2 separate regions of the Homo sapiens genome follow, and region 1 is linked to region 2. Evidence: promoter capture Hi-C in 16 types of primary human blood cells and fetal thymus (Javierre and others, 2016). All regions are on one chromosome and are shown on one strand. The core of a region is centred on a gene start or on the middle of the fragment in contact, and the rest is flanking DNA. Distances in the headings are between cores, read along the strand shown.

The links. The method cuts DNA at HindIII sites, captures the fragments that hold promoters and counts their contacts. A CHiCAGO score of 5 or more calls a contact.
Region 1: a contact is called between a fragment that was not itself captured here and the fragment with the promoter of ZNRF1 in region 2, in 3 of 17 cell types (fetal thymus, M1 macrophages and M0 macrophages). The highest score is 8.9, in fetal thymus.

The regions. Positions count from the first base shown.
Region 1 is chr16:75,167,261-75,171,614 of GRCh38, forward strand. It overlaps ZFP1 (ZFP1 zinc finger protein), which reads left to right. Exons shown (of 4, transcript NM_153688.4): 4 at 1,993-4,354. The coding sequence ends at 3,074. Among named protein-coding and RNA genes, the nearest start is that of ZFP1, 21 kb to the left of the region's middle. The HindIII fragment of the contact is 1,090 bases long and covers 1,501-2,590 here.
Region 2 is chr16:74,997,774-75,002,080 of GRCh38, forward strand. ZNRF1 (zinc and ring finger 1) reads left to right here and starts at 1,251. Exons shown (of 5, transcript NM_032268.5): 1 at 1,251-2,322. The coding sequence starts at 1,899. RefSeq lists silencers at 1,043-1,562, 1,963-2,272 and an enhancer at 3,063-3,122. The HindIII fragment of the contact is 6,289 bases long and covers 1-4,307 here.

The sequences.
Region 1 (4,354 bases), core at 796-3,295, 170 kb after region 2:
AGCAGCTCAGTACCTTTGAAATACTTTTCAGCAATCTGTTTTTCAAATCCCTAACACTTAAGTATAGCTGAGGACAGATGACCTGTACCTCAATCTCTGAAGCATACCTCCAAATATCCGTCTCTCCCTGCTTACCTTTTTTTTTTTCCTGTTTAATCTTATAGATATTTGCCTCTCACACTTGAACCCTGAAACTTTCCTAACATATCTTAAACTTTGTTGTGTCTTGTACATGTACCATTCTTTTCCAGTCCACCATTAATGGGCACCTAGGTTGATTCCATGTCTTTGCTATTATGCATAGTGCTGTGATGAACCTATGAGTGGGCATGTGTCTTTTTGGTAGAATCTTTTTTTGAGACAGGGTCTCATTCTGTCACCCAGGCTAGAATCCAGTGGTGACATCACGGTGCACTGTAGCGTCCACCTCCTGAGCTCAAGTAGTCTTCCCACCTCAGCCTGGAGTAGCTGGGATCACAGACACACACCACCATGTCCTGCTAATTATTTTTTACTTTTGTAGAGACAAGTTCTCTGTAGAACTCCTGACCCCAGGCCAGGCGCCATGGCTCATGCTTATAATCCTAGCATTTTGGGAGGCTGAGGCGGGCAGATCACCTGAGGTCAGTTCAATACCAGCACCAACAACATGGTGAAAACCCCTCTCTACTAAAAATACAAAATAAGCCGGGCATGGTGGCATGTGCCTGTAATCCCAGCTACTCGGGAGACGGAGGTTGCAGTGAGCTGAGATCACACCATTATACTCCAGCCTGGGCAACAGAGACCGACCCCATCTCAAAAAAACAAAAATAAGACCTCCTGACTTCAAGTGATCCTCCTGCCTTGGCCTCCCAAAGTGCTGGGATTACAGGCATGAGCCAGTGTGCCTGGCCAGATGATTTTTAATGGGATTGCTATGTGAAAGGGTAGTTCTGAATTATTTGAGAAATCTTCAGACTGTTCTCCACAGTGGCTGAACTAATTTAAATTCCCACCAACAGTGTATCTTAGCCTTGCCAGTATCTGTTGTTTGACTTAATGAACCTGGGTAACTTTATCCTTAAGATGCTGAACACATTGAAAGAAGTAGGCTGGGCATGGTGGCTCATGCCTGGAATATTGAGAGTATCCCTTGAGCCCAGGAGGTCAAGGCTGCAGTGAGCTATGATTGTGCCACTGCACTCCAGCCTGGGCAAATGAGGGAGACCCTATCTCTAAATAGGAATGGAAGAAAAGTAGGATATGATAGTGAAAACATGTTCACTCTCCCAGCAACTTCAGTAGAAAAAAAAAAGCAATAAAACCAGCAGCAGTTAGTGATCCTGTGGTAAGGGTTGTGTATCTCTTAGCGAATGAGTTTCTGGATTTTACCATTTGCAAGATTCTCACTTAAGAGATTTGGAGCTCTGCTATCTGGTTGTCACTGCAAACCTATGAGAAGTGCTGTTCTCTGGAAATCATTTTGGTAAAGATGAACAGTAGAAAAAAAGGAGAAAAAGCTTAGAACTATGCAGACTGGTGCTGGTTCTACCATAGTAGTCCGAGTTTAGCAAATAATACTATTAGTCGAGATCTGCTTAGGTGTTTCCCCTTAATTCCCTCATCTGCTTACTTTCTCGGTCTCTGTGCTAACTGCAGTGTCCTTAAGAACACTGTGAATCTCCCTCCCTGGCATTGCCAGCCTTCTCATATTGTGTTCTGTTTTCTGTCTCCTTTCACCCTCTCTGCCCACTTTAAGGTCATTTTGTGATCTGGCAATGCTACTTGTATTGATTTTGGTTTTGTTTTGTTTTTTTAACCACAAGCTATTACCTTTCTCTTTCAAAGTTTGAAAGGAAACATTTGCACTGGGAATTTTTTAATATTGGGAGACTGGGTCCCAAACTAAAGAGTCAGCCCTGTGATAGAACACGTGTGAAGACTTCCCATTCGGTAACATTATAGCGGAGGCATTGACAAGGTTCTTTTCATTGTGCTCTCTATTCCTAGAAGTGTGGAAGGCTGATGACCAGATGGAGAGAGACCACAGAAACCCAGACGAGCAGGCGAGGCAATTTTTAATTCTTAAGAACCAAACCCCAATTGAGGAAAGAGGCGATCTCTTTGGAAAAGCACTTAATCTGAACACAGACTTTGTTTCTTTAAGACAAGTACCTTATAAATATGACTTATATGAAAAAACTTTGAAATATAATTCAGACTTGCTTAATAGTAATAGAAGCTATGCAGGAAAGCAGACTGATGAGTGTAATGAATTTGGAAAAGCACTTCTCTACCTGAAGCAAGAGAAAACCCACAGTGGAGTAGAATATTCTGAATACAATAAAAGTGGAAAAGCCCTCAGCCATAAAGCAGCCATTTTTAAACATCAGAAAATAAAAAACTTGGTTCAACCTTTCATTTGTACTTACTGTGACAAGGCTTTCTCCTTTAAGTCACTCCTCATTAGTCATAAGAGAATACATACTGGAGAAAAGCCATATGAATGCAATGTATGTAAGAAAACCTTCTCCCATAAGGCCAACCTCATCAAACATCAGAGAATTCACACTGGGGAGAAACCTTTCGAGTGTCCGGAATGTGGAAAAGCTTTCACCCACCAGTCAAACCTCATTGTACACCAGAGAGCACATATGGAGAAGAAGCCCTATGAGTGCAGTGAATGTGGAAAGACATTTGCCCAAAAGTTTGAACTCACCACACACCAGAGAATTCATACAGGAGAGCGACCCTATGAGTGTAACGAATGTGCAAAAACCTTCTTTAAGAAGTCAAACCTTATCATACATCAGAAGATTCACACGGGGGAGAAACGCTATGAGTGCAGTGAATGTGGAAAATCCTTTATCCAGAACTCACAGCTCATCATACACATGAGAACTCATACAGGAGAGAAACCCTATGAATGTACTGAGTGCGGCAAAACTTTCAGCCAGAGGTCAACTCTTAGATTACACTTGCGAATCCACACAGGAGAGAAACCATATGAGTGTTCCGAATGTGGGAAGGCCTTTAGCAGGAAGTCCCGACTCAGTGTCCATCAGAGAGTTCACATCGGGGAGAAACCCTGAAACTCCAGCCAGGTCTTACTGTGGAAAACTCCTGCCAGAACTCTTCAAGCGGGTGAAAAACCTCATGACAGTATTGAGGGAACATGGGAATTCATACTGAGATGCAATCTCTCAACTCAAAAATGTATTAAAAATAGGATCCCATGAGAACATTATACTGGAAGTTACATGTGATACCCAGCTAAAGAATACATATCAGAATATATCCAGTTGTAAATAGCCATACCCAGTTGTACTACAATGAGCTTTTTAAAATCTTGAATGAATTGAGTATTCTAGACAGCAGCATAAGAAATATACAAACAGTATCCTATGAATTTAGTGGTTTTATGTGGATATGCCACAAAACACAAGTGGTATGCTTTAGATCTGCACATGTGAATTTAGCATAATCACTGGGAATTTGAAATTCTTGTCCTCTGTGATAATTAGGACATAACAAGATTTTCCATACTAAACATCACATGTGTTTTTCAGTATCTCTGCAATCCAGTATGCATTCCAAATGAAATGTGTAACATTTAAAGTAGCATGGAACCTACGTCTTTCCCTACTGCTTGCTGGCATATATCAGTTGGTATGAACATTGTTCTTGAGCTGCCTCTTAGGAAACAGAAGACAGTGTTGAAGTTTTCCCTGCTTCTGGTTTGCTGAAGATTTTCTAGAAGCACTATTTACACAAATATGCAAATGTGAAATAACCGATCTATAACGTGAAGGAGGCAGACATGAGCTGTACTACTCAGTATGCACCACAGAATAAGAGTTTGCCGTGTAAAGACAATATCCCCATTCGTCATGCTCTTATTTTCCCGTGGGATATTTGCATACAAATGCATGTCTGTTACCAAAATATTGTGTAACACAGACAGAAACCACCTGTTTTTGTCTTTCCTTGTTTCCCTTAATATTTCATGAATTGTCTAGCAAAAATGGTAGGATGCTTCTGTAGTTCACAAATGTTACATTTCAGAGACTTTAGAGGAAAAATTATTTTAAATAACTGTCAACTGTTTCATTGCTTTTTAAATTTTTCACGTGCATAACCCCCTTTAGAAGTAAATTTTTACACTATTTTGTTGTTTAAAGGAGGCATTTCTACTTCCTTGAGTTTTGCTGTTGCCAACCTAAAACATTTCCCTTTGGAACATGAGTTATAAGTTATTACTTTTCCTTTACATGTTTACACTTTTATAAAAATCAGATTTTTCAGTGGTCTCTCCAGATATTAACAAGAATTGTTGTGTAACTCAAAGATTTGCTTTTATAGACTTGATTTC
Region 2 (4,307 bases), core at 1-2,500:
AGCCTGGGAGGAGCAAGGCTCCGTCTCAAAAAAAAAAAAAAAGAAAAGAAAAAAAAGAAAAAGAAAAACAGGGCGGGCGCGGTGGCTCATGCCTGTAATCCTAACACTTTGGGAGGCCAAGGCAGGTGGATTACCTGAGGTCAGGAGTTCAAGACCAGCCTGGCCAATACGGTGAAACCCCGCCTCTACTAAAAATACAAAAAATTAGCCAGGTGCAGTGTGGCATGTGCCTGTAATCCCAGCTACTCGGGAGGCTGAGGCAGGAGAATCACTTGAATCCGGGAGGCGGAGGTTGCGGTGAGCCGAGGTTACGCCACACCACTCCAGCCTGGGTGACAGGGCGAGATTACGTCTCAAAAACAAAAACAAAACAAAACAAAAAAAACAGTTGTTCAATAAATGAATGTGAATATAGGAGAAAGACGGCTTGAGGTAGCAAAGGAACACTCCCTTGCAAATGATTCAGGCTTGGTCAACAATACACCTATTGAGTACCCACCGTGTCCTTGGCCCGTGGTGAGGGCCGAAACACAGCACATGGTAAACAAAACAGGGCTCCAGCCTTGGACAGAAGGTTTCTATAATCACTTCTAGCTGCGTTGTTCTATTTCCATACCCATATCTATTCACTTTTTATGGTACATCTATTGATTCTGAAAATTACATTTTAGCTAAGGAATCTACTCATTTGCTTAAGCCCAAAATAGGAAGTTATGATCTAGTGTCAGCAAAACGCCGGATTCACAAGTGTCCCCATGGCGCTGTTTACCCCCAAATAACTAAACCCCGCCAAATGTTGAGATTCCGGACGTGAGGGGTGCTTGGATGGGGAACCCCCGAAAGAATGGACATCACGTCCACCAGAGGGTGCTGTGGGGGCAAATTTGTGCCAGGAGGGGAGCTCGACCGGTGACCCTCAGAGCCAGGTAGGCGTAAGGAGTAAATCTCCTTCTTCCCGGTGTTTCCTTCCCACCCCCTCGAACCATTGCTGCCCCTCCCCCATACTTGGTTCCCCCTGAATAATTTGCCACTTTCGGGGACTTAAGAAGTGTTTGCTTTTGAAAGACATCTGGTTTCTGTGGCTAACGCCCAGTGGTCAGGCCGCCCAGGTCACAGGCCGGCCGGGGGCGGGCGGTGGGTGGGGACTGCTGGGGCGTCAGCGGCCCAGGCGCCGCAGGGACCGCGAAAGGGTTAACCCGGCGGGGGGAGGGGGAGGGGGCGCGGGCCGCGCCTGCGCTCTGCCGCCCTCCATTGTCTCCACGGCGGCGAGGAGCGCCGGCGAGCGCAGCCCGGGACCGAGCGGGGCGGCGCGGCTGGCGGGGCCGGCGGCGGCTGAAGCGAGAGCGCGACGCGACGCGACCGCGGCTTCCCGAGCTGCGCCTGGCCGCCCAGCGCCGCGGCCCGCCCGAGGCCTGGAGGGGTCCGGGCCGCCGTCCATGGTCGCGGCGTCCTGAGGCGGGGGACGCGCCCGGCGCCCCCGGCCCTCCTCCGCCTCCTCCCGCGGGGCGGGCGGCCTCCTCCGGCGCCTCCCCGCGCCCGCCCGCCGCTCGCCGCCGCCTCCCTCCCTCCTTCCCTGCGGCTCCCCCGGCTTTCGGAGCCCGGGGGCGGCCTGTGGCGCGCGGAGCCCGCGCCGGACTGCGCCTCTTTGGACCTTGAGGGGAAACATGCGTTTGCCTTGGATCGTTTGAAATTCTGAGTTTGGGATCCCCGCCCGCCCGCCTGCCTCTTCCGCCCCGCGGGTTTTTTCCTTTTTTCCTTTTGCTTTTTTTCCTTTTCTCCCTCCGGGTCTCCTTTTTGACTCCCTCCCCCTTTATGCTCGCCCAGCCCTCCCCCTGCTGCTGAGAAGTGGGGGAGGGTCTCGGCCTCCAGGTTCCCGCCCCACCGGGGCCCGGGCGAGCATGGGGGGCAAGCAGAGCACGGCGGCCCGCTCCCGGGGCCCCTTCCCGGGGGTCTCCACCGATGACAGCGCCGTGCCGCCGCCGGGAGGGGCGCCCCATTTCGGGCACTACCGGACGGGCGGCGGGGCCATGGGGCTGCGCAGCCGCTCGGTCAGCTCGGTGGCAGGCATGGGCATGGACCCCAGCACGGCCGGGGGGGTGCCCTTTGGCCTCTACACCCCCGCCTCCCGGGGCACCGGCGACTCCGAGAGGGCGCCCGGCGGCGGAGGGTCTGCGTCCGACTCCACCTATGCCCATGGCAATGGTTACCAGGAGACGGGCGGCGGTCACCATAGAGACGGGATGCTGTACCTGGGCTCCCGAGCCTCGCTGGCGGATGCTCTACCTCTGCACATCGCACCCAGGTGGTTCAGCTCGCATAGTGGTGAGTCCGCGGGTGGTGGAGGCCTCGGAGGGAGGGCGCGCCGGGGCGCCCCAAGCCTTCGCGTGCGTGCCAAGGTTTGGGAATGTAGTGCACGACCGGGATCTGTCTGCATTCCCTTTGGTTCCCGATGCCAAGGGATAAATGGGATACCTACCGTCTGGAAACTAGGCTTTCTGCGAGGCTGCGGAGCCTGGCGATTTAGGGACTCACGGCGTGTGTTCACTTGTGGAAGGGCAGAGCGAAGCCTACCTATTGGAGTTCCATTTATTGGCATCACCCTCCTCAGAGAAGAGGTCGTGTCTGGCTGAGAGCAAGTCAGCCTGGGTACTTCCATTCTGCCACTGCAGCACTGTGCCTGCCTCACCGGTAACGGAGAGATGGAGCCAGTTGGAGCAAGCAGTGTCTCCTAAACAGAGTGTGTGAAAATGAAATAAAATCAGGGGCAAGTGATGCCTGGATTAGGGCTCTCACTCTTGCTGGGAGAGAGAGGTGCCCAGTTTTGCCACCCTGCTGGAGATCTGTTTGAAATGTTTAAAATGGAGCAGCCGGCAGGCGGCTGGCATAGACAGGTGTGGCTGCTGTACGGAGGGCCCAGCCGGCGAGTCTCGCGGGGGCTTTGCAGGACCCGGGCTGTGGTCACCCGTACTGCATGCAGCAGGCTTGGCTCCGCGACTCTCGCCTCCCTCCATCTTTTTTTCTTCTGCTCCATGCTAAGTGCTTGGTCTTCCCGTGAATCTGCATCTTTTTGTAACAGGGAGCCTGTCACGGTGGGGCATTATTGCCTGGCTGTTGGCACATGACTGGGGAAAAGGAGGATTCAGAGAATCTGGATGAATTCATTTTATGAACTTCTGGTGACAGGCCAGCAAAAGGTTGGAGGGGGATTTCCCAGGCTCCTAGCGGGAGGGCAAAAAAGGCCTGGCAGGAGGAAAACAGGTCTGTCTGCTAGGTCAGGCATCTAGAAAATTGGCCAAAAGGGATGTGGGGGCCGCTATTTGCTAATTGGCAAGTTGAGTGATGAAGTTACATCTTAAGATTCTTTTGGGTGAGTTGGGAAAATTTAGATAGTGTAGGGGAAAGATTGCTCCTGCCTTTAGGGTACTTTATGGAGGGTAATATCTGTTGGATCACTCTTTTAACTACTGTGAAATAGGGTTGACTTTTGGGGTATCTCTTTCCCCCCCCCTGCAAATAGCCTGGGGTTTGTTTTCATTTGGTTTGGTTTTTTGTCAATTCTGTAAACTTTAATTTGTGAAATAGTGTTGGGGGAGAAACGATTAGTGACTAATTTAGGGTAACACTTAGAAGTAGCTTGTGAATTGTTAGGATGATATTTTAATCTCTGACAGACCTCCGGATATCATTGGAGCTTTTCTGACCTCATGGAACTCTGCCCTGAGTGAGAAGCAGGACATGATTGCCTTTGGCTCTTTCAGGCATTTGATCAAAATTAGGCATTTTGAAATTAATAATTTTTCCTATGGAATTTAGTCCAGAGAGTTAGCCATATTTTTGAGATGACTAGTTTGGTGTTTAAAAGAACTGTAATGAGCATCTGGTTTTGAACTTAAAAGTACTGTAAGAAGTTTCTCTAAAATCACAGAATTTTTTGTGTTGAAAAACATATGAGATATGTAGGGAGGAAGAAAGGGAGTGCTTTTTTTGCTAAAATTTCTTAAGCCTCTTACTAAAAATTTATTTATTATGCTACTACCAGGTTCCATGCTACAGTTATGAGCTTGTAGTTGGATTCCAGAATTTCACTCTTAAGCTGTGAAACCTTATTTTTTTTCATCCGATCATGGTGAGGGTAGGGAGAGCCACTGAACTGTGGGGACAGGAAGGTTGGAGCATATTAATCCTTTAGGGAAGGGTGTCAAAAGTGTGTATGGGAGGCTGCTATTAATATTGTAGGTAATCCATTCCTTACTGTGTAGGACCATCATGTCCTTCTGCAAGACATCGAGCATACCTACTAAATGCTG